Regions from separate parts of the Homo sapiens genome. Here regions 1, 2 and 4 are each linked to region 3. The links are contacts of gene promoters, found by promoter capture Hi-C in blood cells and fetal thymus (Javierre and others, 2016). All regions are on one chromosome and are shown on one strand. Each heading gives the region's core, a stretch centred on a gene start or on the middle of the fragment in contact. The rest is flanking DNA. Distances are from core to core; before and after follow the strand shown. Region 1 holds the start of KCTD11 (potassium channel tetramerization domain containing 11). Region 2 holds the start of TNFSF12 (TNF superfamily member 12). Region 3 holds the start of TRL-TAG1-1 (tRNA-Leu (anticodon TAG) 1-1). Region 4 holds the start of CD68 (CD68 molecule).

The links. The method cuts DNA at HindIII sites, captures the fragments that hold promoters and counts their contacts. A CHiCAGO score of 5 or more calls a contact.
Region 1: the fragment with the promoter of KCTD11 here is called in contact with a fragment that was not itself captured in region 3 in 3 of 17 cell types (activated CD4 T cells, erythroblasts and non-activated CD4 T cells); the score reaches 5.8 in activated CD4 T cells.
Region 2: a contact is called between the fragment with the promoter of TNFSF12 here and a fragment that was not itself captured in region 3, in 1 of 17 cell types (naive CD4 T cells). The highest score is 5.1, in naive CD4 T cells.
Region 4: a contact is called between the fragment with the promoter of CD68 here and a fragment that was not itself captured in region 3, in 7 of 17 cell types (total CD8 T cells, fetal thymus, total CD4 T cells and 4 more). The highest score is 9.5, in total CD8 T cells.

What each region holds. Positions count from the first base shown.
Region 1 is chr17:7,350,578-7,353,742 of GRCh38, reverse strand. KCTD11 (potassium channel tetramerization domain containing 11) reads right to left here and starts at 1,581. Exons shown (of 1, transcript NM_001363642.1): 1 at 1-1,581. The coding sequence starts at 917. The coding sequence ends at 102. It overlaps ACAP1 (ArfGAP with coiled-coil, ankyrin repeat and PH domains 1), which reads right to left. Exons shown (of 22, transcript NM_014716.4): 21 at 2,744-2,793; 22 at 2,266-2,448. The coding sequence ends at 2,348. RefSeq lists silencers at 1,503-2,272, 2,323-2,382, 2,453-2,512. The HindIII fragment of the contact is 3,784 bases long and covers 219-3,165 here.
Region 2 is chr17:7,547,666-7,550,766 of GRCh38, reverse strand. It overlaps TNFSF12 (TNF superfamily member 12), which reads right to left and starts at 1,709. Exons shown (of 7, transcript NM_003809.3): 1 at 1,455-1,709; 2 at 1,246-1,293; 3 at 572-647. The coding sequence starts at 1,613. It overlaps TNFSF12-TNFSF13 (TNFSF12-TNFSF13 readthrough), which reads right to left and starts at 1,709. Exons shown (of 11, transcript NM_172089.4): 1 at 1,455-1,709; 2 at 1,246-1,293; 3 at 572-647. The coding sequence starts at 1,613. RefSeq lists silencers at 1,515-1,594, 1,625-1,814. The HindIII fragment of the contact is 9,939 bases long and covers 1-3,101 here.
Region 3 is chr17:8,119,423-8,122,760 of GRCh38, reverse strand. It overlaps HES7 (hes family bHLH transcription factor 7), which reads left to right. Exons shown (of 4, transcript NM_001165967.2): 3 at 331-418; 4 at 724-2,169. The coding sequence ends at 1,190. It overlaps TRL-TAG1-1 (tRNA-Leu (anticodon TAG) 1-1), which reads left to right and starts at 2,366; the gene lies at 2,366-2,447. TRR-TCT2-1 (tRNA-Arg (anticodon TCT) 2-1) reads right to left here and starts at 1,836; the gene lies at 1,749-1,836. TRQ-CTG1-5 (tRNA-Gln (anticodon CTG) 1-5) reads right to left here and starts at 3,009; the gene lies at 2,938-3,009. RefSeq lists silencers at 581-690, 911-1,370, 2,311-2,520, 2,891-2,980, 3,111-3,160. The HindIII fragment of the contact is 3,122 bases long and covers 1-2,934 here.
Region 4 is chr17:7,578,371-7,581,574 of GRCh38, reverse strand. CD68 (CD68 molecule) reads right to left here and starts at 1,937. Exons shown (of 6, transcript NM_001251.3): 1 at 1,849-1,937; 2 at 1,248-1,765; 3 at 990-1,109; 4 at 792-864; 5 at 509-679; 6 at 1-197. The coding sequence starts at 1,897. The coding sequence ends at 64. It overlaps EIF4A1 (eukaryotic translation initiation factor 4A1), which reads right to left. Exons shown (of 11, transcript NM_001416.4): 11 at 2,569-3,204. The coding sequence ends at 3,089. It overlaps SENP3-EIF4A1 (SENP3-EIF4A1 readthrough (NMD candidate)), which reads right to left. Exons shown (of 22, transcript NR_037926.1): 22 at 2,569-3,204. RefSeq lists enhancers at 1,043-1,112, 1,213-1,272 and a silencer at 2,748-2,936. The HindIII fragment of the contact is 9,128 bases long and covers 1-3,204 here.

The DNA.
Region 1 (3,165 bases), core at 332-2,831, 770 kb after region 3:
TCCCGACTCTCATAGCTCCTGAAGCAGAGCTGGAAAGAGGCTTCAGGGGTGCTAGTACCCCATTCTCTCTCCTCCCCACAGTCAAACTGAGAACAGCATCCTCAGTGCCGGACAAAGCGCAGAGACCTGGAGTTGAGCAGGTCTTCGGGGTCGGGGAAGACAGAGTCTAGTCGGAAGCCGTGCTCGAGAGCCACCCGCAGCACCTCCTCCAGGAAGCTTGGGGTGCCCACCACCTCCCGCCGCTCTCCTGGCCCCCCAGTCCACAGCGGCTGCAGCCCCAGTCTCCCATACTCCACCTCGGGGAGTTCCACGGGGCGGGGGGCCCACTCCAGATGAAAATGTGGGCTCCCCTCTGCCCTATCCCCACTGGCCACACCAAATCGGGCCCGCAAAGCACCTAGACACTCAGAGTCGGTGCAGAAAAGGTTGGCTCGGAAGGTGTCCACCTGGACGGAGCTCAGCTCATAGTGATGGGGTCCCCGGCGAGCAGAGAAGTGCACCAGGCGGGGGCTGACATCTACATCTGCGTGGAGCAGGGCAGCTGTGGGTGCAGGGGTCCCCTGAGAGGCCTCCAGTTCCCGCAGCGCGTCCAGGAGGGGCCGGATCTGGTAGAAGTCAGCCTCTGCCCTGAGCAGCGCTGTCTCTCCGTACCCACGGGGCAGGTCCAGGCGGCCCAGCCTCAGGAAATTGAGGATGTGCCGGAAGGCCTTGCCATCCCGGTCGATGAAGTAGTGGCCGCCTCCTTGGGAATTGAGGTTGGGGGGCATGGGGGTGCCGGCCCTAAACATGGCCCCCAGCATAGAGTCTGGGAAGCGGGTCAGGGTCTCCAAAGTGGTGGAATATAGTGTGCCCCCCACATTCAGGGTCACGGGGCCCCCAAAGGAGGGGGGCGAAGAGGGCACAGGAGGAGGAGAAATTTTGGGAAGTACAGGAGACACCGAAAGAAAAGAAAAGGCAGAACTTCCTGGGTGTGTGCAGAATTGGGTCGAAGCTGTCAGATTCGCTGGGTTGGAGGCACAGGTGGAGCACACCCAGTAAGGTTTGGGGCTCACCCCGGCTACTTTGGTGGTGGATGGGGAGGTGGTGTCAGGACACAGAAATCCCCAAAAGGTTGAGAGAAGAGATGAAAAGAGCAGAGGGCAGCCAGAGAGGGGAAGGGAGCTTGAGGTCTGGACGTATCCGATTTGGGGTGGTCAGCGACACCCCTCTGTGGTCTTCAGACAGTGGGTTTCCGGAATCCAACCAGCAGGTGACGGTGGCGAGCACAGGGCCGACTCTGAAGGGATGGCCTCCGAGACCCCGGGCAGATCGCTGCCGCCGTGGACGAGTCCAGCCAGGGCTCTGGGGCCACTCAGAGGCCTGGCCTGGCTGCCGGCGCGGGTCCCAGGAGATGGAGGCCGAACTGACGGGAGCGGATGGCGGAGCCCCCTTGTATCCGCCGGGGAGCGACGATGCGTGCTCAGCCCGGGCTGGGAGTGTCCGAGGGCTCTGATGGAAACAGCCAGGAGTTTCGGGACCCGGCCGCGCCGCCTTCCCTGGGTGTCGCCGCAGCCGCTGAGGTCCTCTCCGCCCCCAGGAAGTGGCCTAAGGGCAGCGGCCCGGGGCCCTTTAAGAGACAGCCCCGCCCCTTGGCGCCCCGCCCCCGCCCCCGCGAGGCTCGCGCGGCCCGGGCGGAGGTGGGAGGCTGGAGGCGAGTCTCGGACGCGAGAGACTGGGCGGACTGGCTGGACTGGCAGACGCTGGCGGGACGGGGTGACTCAGGCACGTCGCCCCGGATGTGGCCACGACCGCCCCGCCGCCGCTCAGGTGTGCCCGATCTCACGTCTGCAAGTCGGCGGGGCTGGAGCCTCTAATCCCACCGCTCAGAGCCCGAGGCCCGGCCGGCCCAGCCCGGGAGCCGAGTCCCTCCCAGCGGCTCCCCCGGGGAATTCCCGAGGGGGCGGGTGCTGAGCCGCCGCATTCCGGGGATGCCTTCCAGCCGGGGTGGCCCGGGCGCGCTCTCTCCGCGGCGGCGCGGGGCCAGCGAGCCCCAGGGCCAGCCCCACCCCTCGGCAGGACTGGGCTGGCCACGTCGCCCCAGCCCGAGAGCCCCCGCCCCGCAGCGCCCTGCGCTCAGGCCGCGGCCGAAGCTGCCGCCTCGCTCCCCGGAGTCGCACCTTGCTGGACTGGAGCTCGCAAACCCCCAGCTGCTCCCCGCACCTCGGGAGCCGCAGCGCCCAACACCCTACGGGCCCGAAGGTGGCGCCCAAGAAGTGAACCAGAAGGGAAGAGCGAAGCACGGAGGCTTTAATGGCAGAGGGCCCGGTGGCGGGGAAGGGAGGCAGGCGCGGGCCCCGTGGGCCTCGGGTCACAGCGTGTGGAGGTCATGACTGCGACGGCTCAGCTTCTCCGGGTCGTCTGACGCCATGAGGGAGAAGTCGCGGAAGATGTCAAGATACGTCTCATCTCCTGGGGGAGGGAGGAAAGGCCGGGAGGCGGCTGGGCCCCAGTGCAGAAGGGCAGGATCCGGCGGTTGGGGCCCACCTGGGGACCTCGCGCTCCGAGCCTGGGTGGGAACGTGCGCGCCGCGGGCACTGCGCCAGCACCTATGCCTTGCCAGGGCCTGGCACGTCGCATGCGCCCAATACGCATTTGTTAAATAACGGAATGAATGCAGCTGGGCACTAGGGAGAGAGGTCACCGTGGACCAGAAGCCCAGAGTTCAGGTGTTGGGCCTGGGGGGTGGGGTGGGTGTATTCTTTACCTGCCTGCCCCTGGGCCGCTTCAGCCTCCCTCATCTTTGCCAGTCGTAGCCTGAAGAGGAGGGAATTAAGAAATGAACGACACTATCTTTGGCCGGGCGCGGTGGCTCACGCCTGTAATCCCAACACTTTGGGAGGCCGAGGCAGGCGGATCACGAGGTCAGGAGATCGAGACCGTCCTGGCCAACATGGTGAAACCCCGTCTCTACTAAAAATACAAAAAATTAGCCGGGGGTGGTGGCGCACGCCTGTAGTCCCAGCTACTCAGGGGAGGCTGAGACAGGAGAATCGCTTGAACCCGGGAGGCGGGGGTTGCAGTGAGCCGAGATCGCGCCCCTGCACTCTAGCCTGGGCGACAGAGTGAGACTCCGTCTCAAAAAAAAAAAAAAAGACTATCCTCACCTCCCCCACAACTTCCCATCCT
Region 2 (3,101 bases), core at 460-2,959, 570 kb after region 3:
GGGCCCTAGTGGGGGTCCCAGAGCAACTCTCCCAGCCCCATTCCCCTCTCAGGAACCCTGGCATCCTTATTCTTGTCCAGACTCCTGGCCTTAGAATCTCAGGCCTCATCTTCCTCAGTAAGTAGAGTGACTATAATTTGTCATCCACACTGGGATACTGCTGAGAGCAAAACGGGAAGCTGCTATTAATCACACCGAGATAACAGGTGGGGGCCAGGACAACTGCATGCCGACTTGGACACGTGGTCATCCGGCCACCCCATCATCCCATTCCTAAGTCTCTTTGCCTACCGGGGCCCAGGCCTCTGACTGCCAGGCCTAGTCTCCATCAGGATCCCAGTAGTTCTTCTAACTCATGGCCACCCTGCCTTCCTGTTTGGGGTAGGGTCTGAAGGAGCACATCCATATGACAGAAGGAGCTTCAGAGGAGGGCGAGAATCCCTAGGTTTGAGTCTTGGCTGGTTAGCTGCATGACTCTGAACTCCTTTCACCCTCCGTGCCTCAGTTTCTCCCTGTGGATAATGGTTTTTGCTCTGCCCGCTTCCTGAGGTTGGGATAGAGGGATGCTCACCACTTCTGCGAGGCCGAACTAGTCGGTTCAGGAAAGGCGCAGGATCCTGGCTTTCTTCTGTCTGGGGATTCAGTTCCTAGGGGAATTAGGGCAGGGTTCAACCACAGACTCCCAGAGATATAAAGTGAGACATACGGGGCCTGTCAGGAGAGCCACCAGCCAGCAATAGACACAGAAGTCAGGGACAGATTAAGCCCCTCAGCCAACTACAGCTGGGGCCCCGGGCAAAGGTGAAGCTGGGAGTCAGGCCCCAGTCCTCACCCTTTCCTCTAGACCAGCTACACTTTCCCACCCACACACACAACCAACGCAGACCCTGCATTCAATTGGCACATTGCACACATGCCCGCACCCAGTCACCACGCACAGAGGATACACACCCTGTACACAACCGCACCCCTCTTCCACGCAGACTCACATATCTTATACAACCACGTCACCCCCAGCCAATAAACACCTCAGACTCAGGTGGCACAACCCCAGCACAAACCCCTCACACAGAGTTGTCACCACGCACACACACCCCTGCAGACACGCACCCATGCACGCACTGTGTTCACACACACCCTGCACACACCTCGAGTACGGCTGGCACAGCTGCACACACCTGCAGCCTCGGCTGTGCACACTTCCCATGCCCCAGCAGCCTGCAGACCGCGCCCACGCCCACTCACCGACGGGTCCTGGTCCTCCTCTGCCACCAGCTCCTCCTGGGCAGGCTCCTGCTGGGAAGGAGGGAGCGTCACCCTGTGCCGCTCCACCTGACATCTCACCCTCCACCCATCCTCCCTTCCCCTTGCCTTCAGCCCACGCGGCCCCCAGCGGCCCCTCTGCAGTCTCAGCTCCTGATGTGCCCAAGAAGGGGTGCGCAGCGGGGCCTCACCTGGGCGGACAGCGATGCCCGGCTCCCCAAACTGACCACGGCCAGCAGGAGGCCGAGGCAGGCCAGCGCCAGGCCCAGGCCCAGCGCGAGCGGGACCAGCAGGGCGGTGCCCGGCTCCCCCCGGCGCCCCCTCCGCCTCTGGCTCCGACGGGCGGCCATGGGGGCGGGGGGCTGTGCCTGCCTCACCGCCCCCCCATCCCGGGACCCGAGGGATCGGGGGAGGGGGAGCCGGCGGGCGGATCGGGCCGGGGAGAGGGAGGGGCAAGGGAAACGGGGCGGGAGGGGGCGCTGGGGACAGGAAGCCGGACGCTGTGTGTGATCAAACTCCGAGCCTCTCGCCGGGCGCTGTGCGCGCAGCGAACGGAGTGGGCGCCCACCCGACCTCTGAGCGCCCAGCCCGGGCGTGCACCACCAGGGCGAGGTCCGTTGCGTGCGGCCGCGGGAGCGACGGGGCTATGCGTGTGCGGGCACCTCCTGCGGGGAGGTGGGGAACTCAGGAAGGCCTGTTGGTTCAGATTCTTCTGTGTCCCTGTGTCTTCAGAGATAAGGACCCTCCTTTCCCCCAGGTGCAGGGAGGGCGCCTCTCGCAGGAGGCTGTTATTTGCTTCTTCAGGAAAAGGGCAGGGAGTTCCAGGTTGTATGACCTGGTTCAGGGAAGAAGGGCAGGAGAAGGTAAGAAAGATCCTTCGGCTTCTGCGGTTTTCTCAAATTCCTTCAGCTTAAAACACTCACTGTGCCGGTAGCACGTTCTGAAGCCCATCATTACCAATGATTGCCAAGCATCTGAGGAGGACCAGCAGCATGCAAAAGAAACACCAAAATTGGTCCGGCAGGTGGCTTACGCCTGTAATCCCAGAAGGCCAAGGCTGGGGGCCAGGAGTTCAAGATCAGCCTGGGCAAGAGCAAGACCCCATCTCTACAGAAAAGTTTTAAAAAATTAGCCCACGCCTGTAGTCCCAGCTACTCAGGAGGCCGAGGTAGGAGGATTGTTTGAGCCCAGGAGTTTGAGGCTGCAGTGAGCTGTGATTGCACCACTACACTCCAGCCTGGGCAACAGACCTTGTCTCAAAAAGAAAGAAAGAAAGGAAGAAAGAAAGAAAGGAGGGAGGGAGGGAGGGAGGGAAGGAGGGAAGGAAGGAAGGAAGGAAGGAAGGAAGGAAGGAAGGAAGGAAGGACCAAAATTGGCTGGGCGCGATGGTTCACGCCTGTAATCGCAGCACTTTGGGAGGCTGAGGCGGGTGGATCACGAGGTCAGGAGATCGAGACCTGCCTGGCCAAGATGGTGAAACCCTGTCTCTAATAAAAATACAAAAAAATTAGCCGGACGTGGTGGCAGGCGCCTGTAGTTCCCAGCTACTCGGGAAGCTGAGGCAGAGAATTGCTTGAACCCAGGAGACAGAGGTTGCAGAGAGCTGAGATCACGCCACCACACTCCAGCCTGGGCAACACAGCAAGACCCTATCTCAAAAAAAAAAAAAAAGAAAGAAAGACCAAAATTAACAAACAAAATTTGACATTGGAGGAAACAGAGATAATTCAGGATACAAAGAGTACTACCTAATATACTTAAAGAGAGTCAAGAAAAAGCATCCATAGAGCTGGGCATGGTGGTGCATGCCTGTAGTCCCAGCTACTCAGGAGGTTGAG
Region 3 (3,338 bases), core at 124-2,623:
GTTCCCCCTCCCCCACAGCCAGCCTCTGATGAGCCAGCCTCTGTTATGTCGGGTGGTTAATTTCATTCCCTGGGTTGCGGTTTCAAATCTCCTCCTCACGCGTTGGGCATTGGTTCCAACCCCTAGGATTGGACAGTTTCGTCTCAGGGTGGGCCAGGACTTTCCTTGGTCATCTCCACTCCGCATTTGGTCGCGCGTTCTGTGGGCAGTGCGCAAATGCGATCGGGGGCACCACCAGCTCCCGCATCCGTCCCTCCCTTCTTCCCCCTGCCACTTTCCCCCTTTCTCCCCACCCCTTTCTGTCTCTGCGCCCTCCCCTCCCGTCTGTAGAACCTCCGGAACCCGAAGCTGGAGAAAGCGGAGATATTGGAGTTCGCCGTGGGCTACTTGAGGGAGCGAAGCCGGGTGGAGCCCCCGGGTACAGCGCGGGGGTGGGGCAGCGGAGGGAGGGAGGGGGGACGCCAGGAGGCTCCGGCCGGGGCAGAGTGGGCGGGCCCTGCGGTGGATGGTGGGCTTGGGGAGTGGCCGGTTCTGCTCCGAGGCGAGGTTAATAACACCCGCGCGTGTCTGTCTCTGTGTCTCCCTCATTTTCTCCCTCTTTCCGTCCATCTGGCTTCCTGTCTCTGTGCGCCTGTCCGGCCTTGGTATCTCTGCGCCCCGCCCCTTCCCTCACCCCTGCCGGGCCCCTGCCCTGCCCACCTGTGCTCCCGCCGGCCGCACCAGCCGCCGCGGCTCCAGGGGTTCCCCGGTCCCCAGTCCAGGACGCCGAGGCGCTCGCCAGCTGCTACTTGTCCGGTTTCCGCGAGTGCCTGCTTCGCTTGGCGGCCTTCGCGCACGACGCCAGCCCGGCCGCCCGCGCCCAGCTCTTCTCCGCGCTGCACGGCTATCTGCGCCCCAAACCGCCCCGGCCCAAGCCGGTAGATCCGAGGCCTCCAGCGCCGCGCCCATCCCTGGACCCCGCCGCACCGGCCCTTGGCCCTGCGCTGCACCAGCGCCCCCCAGTGCACCAGGGCCACCCTAGCCCGCGCTGCGCATGGTCCCCATCCCTCTGCTCCCCGCGCGCCGGGGATTCTGGCGCGCCGGCGCCCCTCACCGGACTGCTGCCGCCGCCACCGCCGCCTCACAGACAAGACGGGGCGCCCAAGGCCCCGCTGCCCCCGCCGCCCGCTTTCTGGAGACCTTGGCCCTGAGCCTTGGGGGGTGGTGGGGGCGGGGTCTAGGGGTGGGGTAGAGACTCCAGCCCGAGGGCAGCAGAGGGACCCGGGCGTCCGGGCGAGCAGGTGTTGGGGAGGGCAGTGGGGCGCGCGGGCTCAGCGCGCGGGTGAGATGTGGTCTATATTAGAGTATCTATATAAATATATATTTCCCTGGTTCCTGTCCCTTTTCCCTGCCCCAACTTCTCCCTTGCGTCTAGGATTGTACTCTCTCTGCCCCTCAGCCCAGTCCCAGTCCCTTCCCGAGTCCCTAGTGCATGGAATAAAGTGGTTATTAAATCCCCGTGTGTCCCCGAGCCAGGGGCCTGCCTTTATCTCGACGTCCACGCCCACTTTCCCTTCCCTTCTGTCTCCCACCCTCAGTCCTGCTCTCCATGGCCCAAGCCCCGGGGCAGACAGGTAAGTAAAGAAGAGAGCAGAGCGGGAACTGAGATCGAAATTGAAACCAGGTGGAAAGAGAGAGATAGGGTAGGGGGAGAAGGGATGGGGGCCTTTAAGAAAAAAACGGATAAAAAGGAAAAATTGAAATAAAATCGACTCTGGTGGGATTCGAACCCACAACCTTTGAATTGCTCTATTCGTCACTAGAAGTCCAATGCGCTATCCATTGCGCCACAGAGCCACCCGACGAACGGCGGCGTCTTGTAGCTTACGGGTACTAGAGTGGGAATGGGGCAGGGTTGGGGAGCGGGGCTAAGGGACTTGGGCGGGACATGCCAGGAGGGCGCGGTTTGGATCTCAGAGGCCAAGCCAGGTAGAGGTAGCGGGCGCAAAGCATGTTAGCCAGGTGAGAGAGAGGGCGCACATGGGTCGAAAAAACAGGGAGGGAGAGCAACCGAAAATGGCTGAGCGAGCGAGTGCAGAGCTCCGGCTGCCCGCTTGGGGGGTGTTTCCGGCTCAGGCGCTCCCCACTCCCAGATATAGTCCCACCCAAATAAACTAGTTTTGTTGTAAATTTCTGTGTGTTTTTGTCTCTTCTCGTTTATCTGTTCTGCCATCTGCTGCTATGCGGTCCACAGTCTCGATGGTTCTTCATTTCCAGTCTAAAAGATGTGGAAAAGGAGACGAATCAATTTGGCACTCTTAAGATTTGCCCCATTCCTTACTTCTAGTCTCTTAGGAGGACAACGGGGACAGTAAGTTTTCGTGCAGGTAGCGTGGCCGAGCGGTCTAAGGCGCTGGATTTAGGCTCCAGTCTCTTCGGAGGCGTGGGTTCGAATCCCACCGCTGCCAGGCTGGAGTTTTTCTGGTGGATTACGCACCTGCTACAGTTCTGTTAACAGTTCTGTGAGGTTACACCTATTTACATGCAGAAAGTAATTTTACGAATTCCCCTGGTAATGGTTTCACCATCATCTTCCGTGTTTGGTCTTCCAGAGAGATCATAGGCCTGCATCCATCCCAGAAGCTAAGACCTGATGGTAACTGCTGAAGCAATATTTCGTTTCTTCATAACATCTCTATTATTTCGTTTCTTCATAACATCTCTATTTTAACATGTTTTCAAATGTTAGCTCAACTTCCAACATATTTAAATAATTTATTGTACGTTCTCTTAACACTGTGTTATAGGACTCAATTATCCGGTAGGAAAAGCACAAATAATTGGTAGTGTCCTAGTTTACTTTTTTTTTTTGTCGTATTATCTTGGGTCATAGGAGTATCCCCTCTGTGAAAATCAATTAACAATATTCAACATGCTGATATTAAAAGAAAAGCTTCAAGGTTCCACCGAGATTTGAACTCGGATCGCTGGATTCAGAGTCCAGAGTGCTAACCATTACACCATGGAACCTCCCTCGTGGTGTCTTTCAAGATTGTGTACATTACTGGACATTCTATTTTGCGTGTCTTCCACACCCGTCACTTAAAACGAAAACAAAACAAAGTCTGCTGTTGGATATGGTAGACACCGTTATCGAGCACTTGAAATATATGAATTCAGATGTATTGCCAGCTTCTAAATACACATCTTCTTTTGAAGGAAGGCTTTGTACAAACAAAAAGACTTAAAATTTCATTAATATTTTTAGAATGTTGATTATATGTTAAAATAAGATTTTGGTATATTAGGGTAAGTAAAATAGATCCGTGAAATTAATTTCGCTTGCTTTTTATTCTTTG
Region 4 (3,204 bases), core at 688-3,187, 540 kb after region 3:
AAATAAGGGTACCCCCCCACCACACCCCAACCCCCTCAGTGCCCTGGGGTTTGAAGCAAATGCTCAGAGGGCCTGGTAGGCGGATGGGCGTCTCCGGATGATGCAGAAAGCAATAAGCACCAGGGCGAGGAGGCCAAGAAGGATCAGGCCGATGATGAGAGGCAGCAAGATGGACCGGTCACTGGGGCAGGAGAAACCTGGCGGAAGGATAGGGCAGGTAGGTATTTGCAGTGACGTGCTGGTTGGGATAAAGGTGGGAGGAGGGAATGGGGGGATGCTGGGGAGTAGGAGATTGGTGAGGAGCTCACCGCAGTGACTCAGCAGTGATAAAAGGGGGAAACTGGCAGAGTCTTGTAGAGGATGGAAAGAAAGCTGCCCTGTAGCCATGACAAGCTGGGAGAGCGAGATTTGGGGGGTTAAGAAGAGAGATGAGTGGCTTATGGGCCTGGGGAAGGGGTTTTCAGTGCAGTGGGAGGATTCTAGGAGGGAAGGAGTAGGTAGGTCTTACTTTGCCCAAAGACCCCTGTGTGGGGCAGCTGAGCAGCCTGGAGCCTCAGGGAGAGCAGGTCGAGGTGGACAGCTGGTGAAAGAATGATGCTCGAGTTGCTGCAACTGAAGCTCTGCCCCAGGGGTGCTTGGAGATCTCGAAGGGATGCATTCTGAGCCGAGAATGTCCACTCTGGAGGAGTGAGGAAGGGTCAGATCCTATCCACCTCCCTGGCCCCAGCTTAGTCCTTTCAGGAACCCTGGCGTCTAGTGGTAGCAATGAGAAAGGGAAGGAGGTTACTTACGTGCTGCGTGGGGGAAGGACACATTGTACTCCACCGCCATGTAGCTCAGGTAGACAACCTTCTGCTGGAGGTCCTGTGGGGCGAAGAGGAAGGCGCAGGTGGTATCCCTCTCCACAGAGGAAGGAGTAGCGTGTGGGATTGGGAGGGGAGGGGCGCCGGGAGGCTGAGTGAGGGGTGAGACTGAGGTCATGGCTATACCTGCATGAATCCAAAGCTGAGGTGTCCATAGGGGAATGAGAGAAGCAGGTGGGGATGGGCACCCTCACAGCTTCCCTGGACCTTGGTTTTGTTGGGGTTCAGTACAGAGATGCCCCAGGCCTGCGGAAGTTAAAGACTGGAAGGTCACAAGACTGCATGCGATGCCGGCCAAGGTTCCCTGTCCCCTCTTCCTTCTTCCCTCTGAGCCTATATCCAGTCCTGCCTCCCTCCCCTCTCATCCCCCAGTTTTAGCTTTACCTCTCCTCCACCCTGGGTTGTGTACATGACTCGAATCTGAATCTGGGCTTGGAGGTGGACACAGGGCTGGGAACCATTGGTCCACGTGTAGTCTCCAATGGTCTCCTTGGAGGTTGGGCTAGGACTCGGAGAGGGTGGAGGTGGTTCTGGGTGGGCAGAACTGGTGAATCCTGGGCTGGTGGCAGTGCTGTTGCTTGTTGGATGAACCGTGGCATTTCCATGACTAGTGGTGGCAGGACTGTGAGTGGCAGTTGAGGGTCCCTGGCTGGTGGCAGTGCTATTGCTTGTTGGATGAACTGTGACGTTTCCATGGCTGGTGGTGGTGGGGTTGTGAGTGGCAGTCGTGGGTCCGTGGCTGGTGGTGCCTGTGGTGGTTGTCCTGTGAGTGGTGGTTTTGTGGCTCTTGGTAGTCCTGTGGCTGGTTGTTCCAGTGCTCTCTGTAACCGTGGGTGTCACCGTGAAGGATGGCAGCAAAGTAGCTGATTTTTTGTGAGGACAGTCATTCCCTGTCCCCTGGGCTTTTGGCAGAGAGGAGATGGTTAGCAACCCAGGGCAGGCTCCCTCCCAGGGGCCCCCTCCCCTCAGCCTCCTTCCTCCTTACCTGCCAGTAGCCCCAGCAGGGCCCCCGAGAAAAGCACAGCCAGCCTCATGGCTGAACCGCCTCACCCAAAGTCCAGCTAGGCTGTCTGCACCAGTTGCTCAACCCTGCTCCCTCAGCCCTCTCTTGGAAAGGAGGAAATGAAAGTCTCACTTCCTGTACTGGAGATGATCCCACCCACAGCCTGACTCAGGGGCCTCAGCTCTAGCCACCTCTCTCTTAGTCATTAGTTTTTGTAATTAAGTTAGGGGACTGTTGGCCCTGCTTCATCAGGGCAAAGTCAACAGTGTCACATGGGTGCAAACGGAGTCCTAGGGCAGTTGATCCACAGGGATCCATGTGTCAAACTCAGCGAAACTTGCTTGGCAGTTGTGGCAAGTAGCTATGGGAACAGCTGAGGTACAGGCCCCTCCCTTGGTGGGGAAATCGGTTTCCACTCCTTTCCCCTGGACCTCTGGGCTGACCCCTGTACTACTTCCTCTTGGCTGAGGCATGTGAGGGGCTTGTGACCATCCACACCCAGCCCTTTACAGAGGGGCAGCACTCCAGTCAGCATTGTCATTCACAGAGCCGAGAACATGGCTTTCCAGCGTCTGAGAACTCAGATGGTGACAAGAAAGCAACAGCCCAAAGGTAACCATCTGCTGGGGAAGGGGGGAGCAGAGATGCACCCAGTAGCAGGTGGGAGAGGGAAGGGGAGGTAAGAAATGAGAAGCCCAAACAGGCAGTTTCCAAGTCATTTTATTCAGAATTTTGTGTTTGTTTCCTGAATCAATAAATACTATACAAAACAATGTAAAAATGGCTACCATTTTCTCTCCCCTGCTTCCCCCCACCTGGGGACAACCCCCTGGGCAACCTCACTTAGGGGTTTTAGGGGTTCTCCCTCCAGATTTGGTCCAGCAAATGAGGCTGAGTGACATAGTCCCTTGAATCACTTTCAAAGGAGCTCAGCTGAGGTGAGGAGAGCCTCTGGGATCTGGAGGTTACTAGGTTAGGGAAATGGATTAGTGTTTTTTTTTTTTTTTTGGGAGAAGAGCCGGCGCCTGGGGCAAGAGCCTACCCCAAAGAAAAGGGTGTCTAAAATGTTCACGGTTCCTTCTTTTGCCTCAAAAAGTGACATTTATTCAAAGAAAAAAAATGACAAGATGTCCATCCCTTGGCTCCCTTCCCTCCCCCCTCCTGCTGCTCCTCAGCCCCCAGAGATTGAGCCCTGGCTGGGGCTGGGTGGCAGGACAGCCCCTCAGATGAGGTCAGCAACATTGAGGGGCATTTCCTCAATGGAGGTGTTGTAGAAGGTCTCAATGTCTCGAAGAGTCCTCTTGTCTTCTTCTGTCACCATGTTAATAGCCACACCTT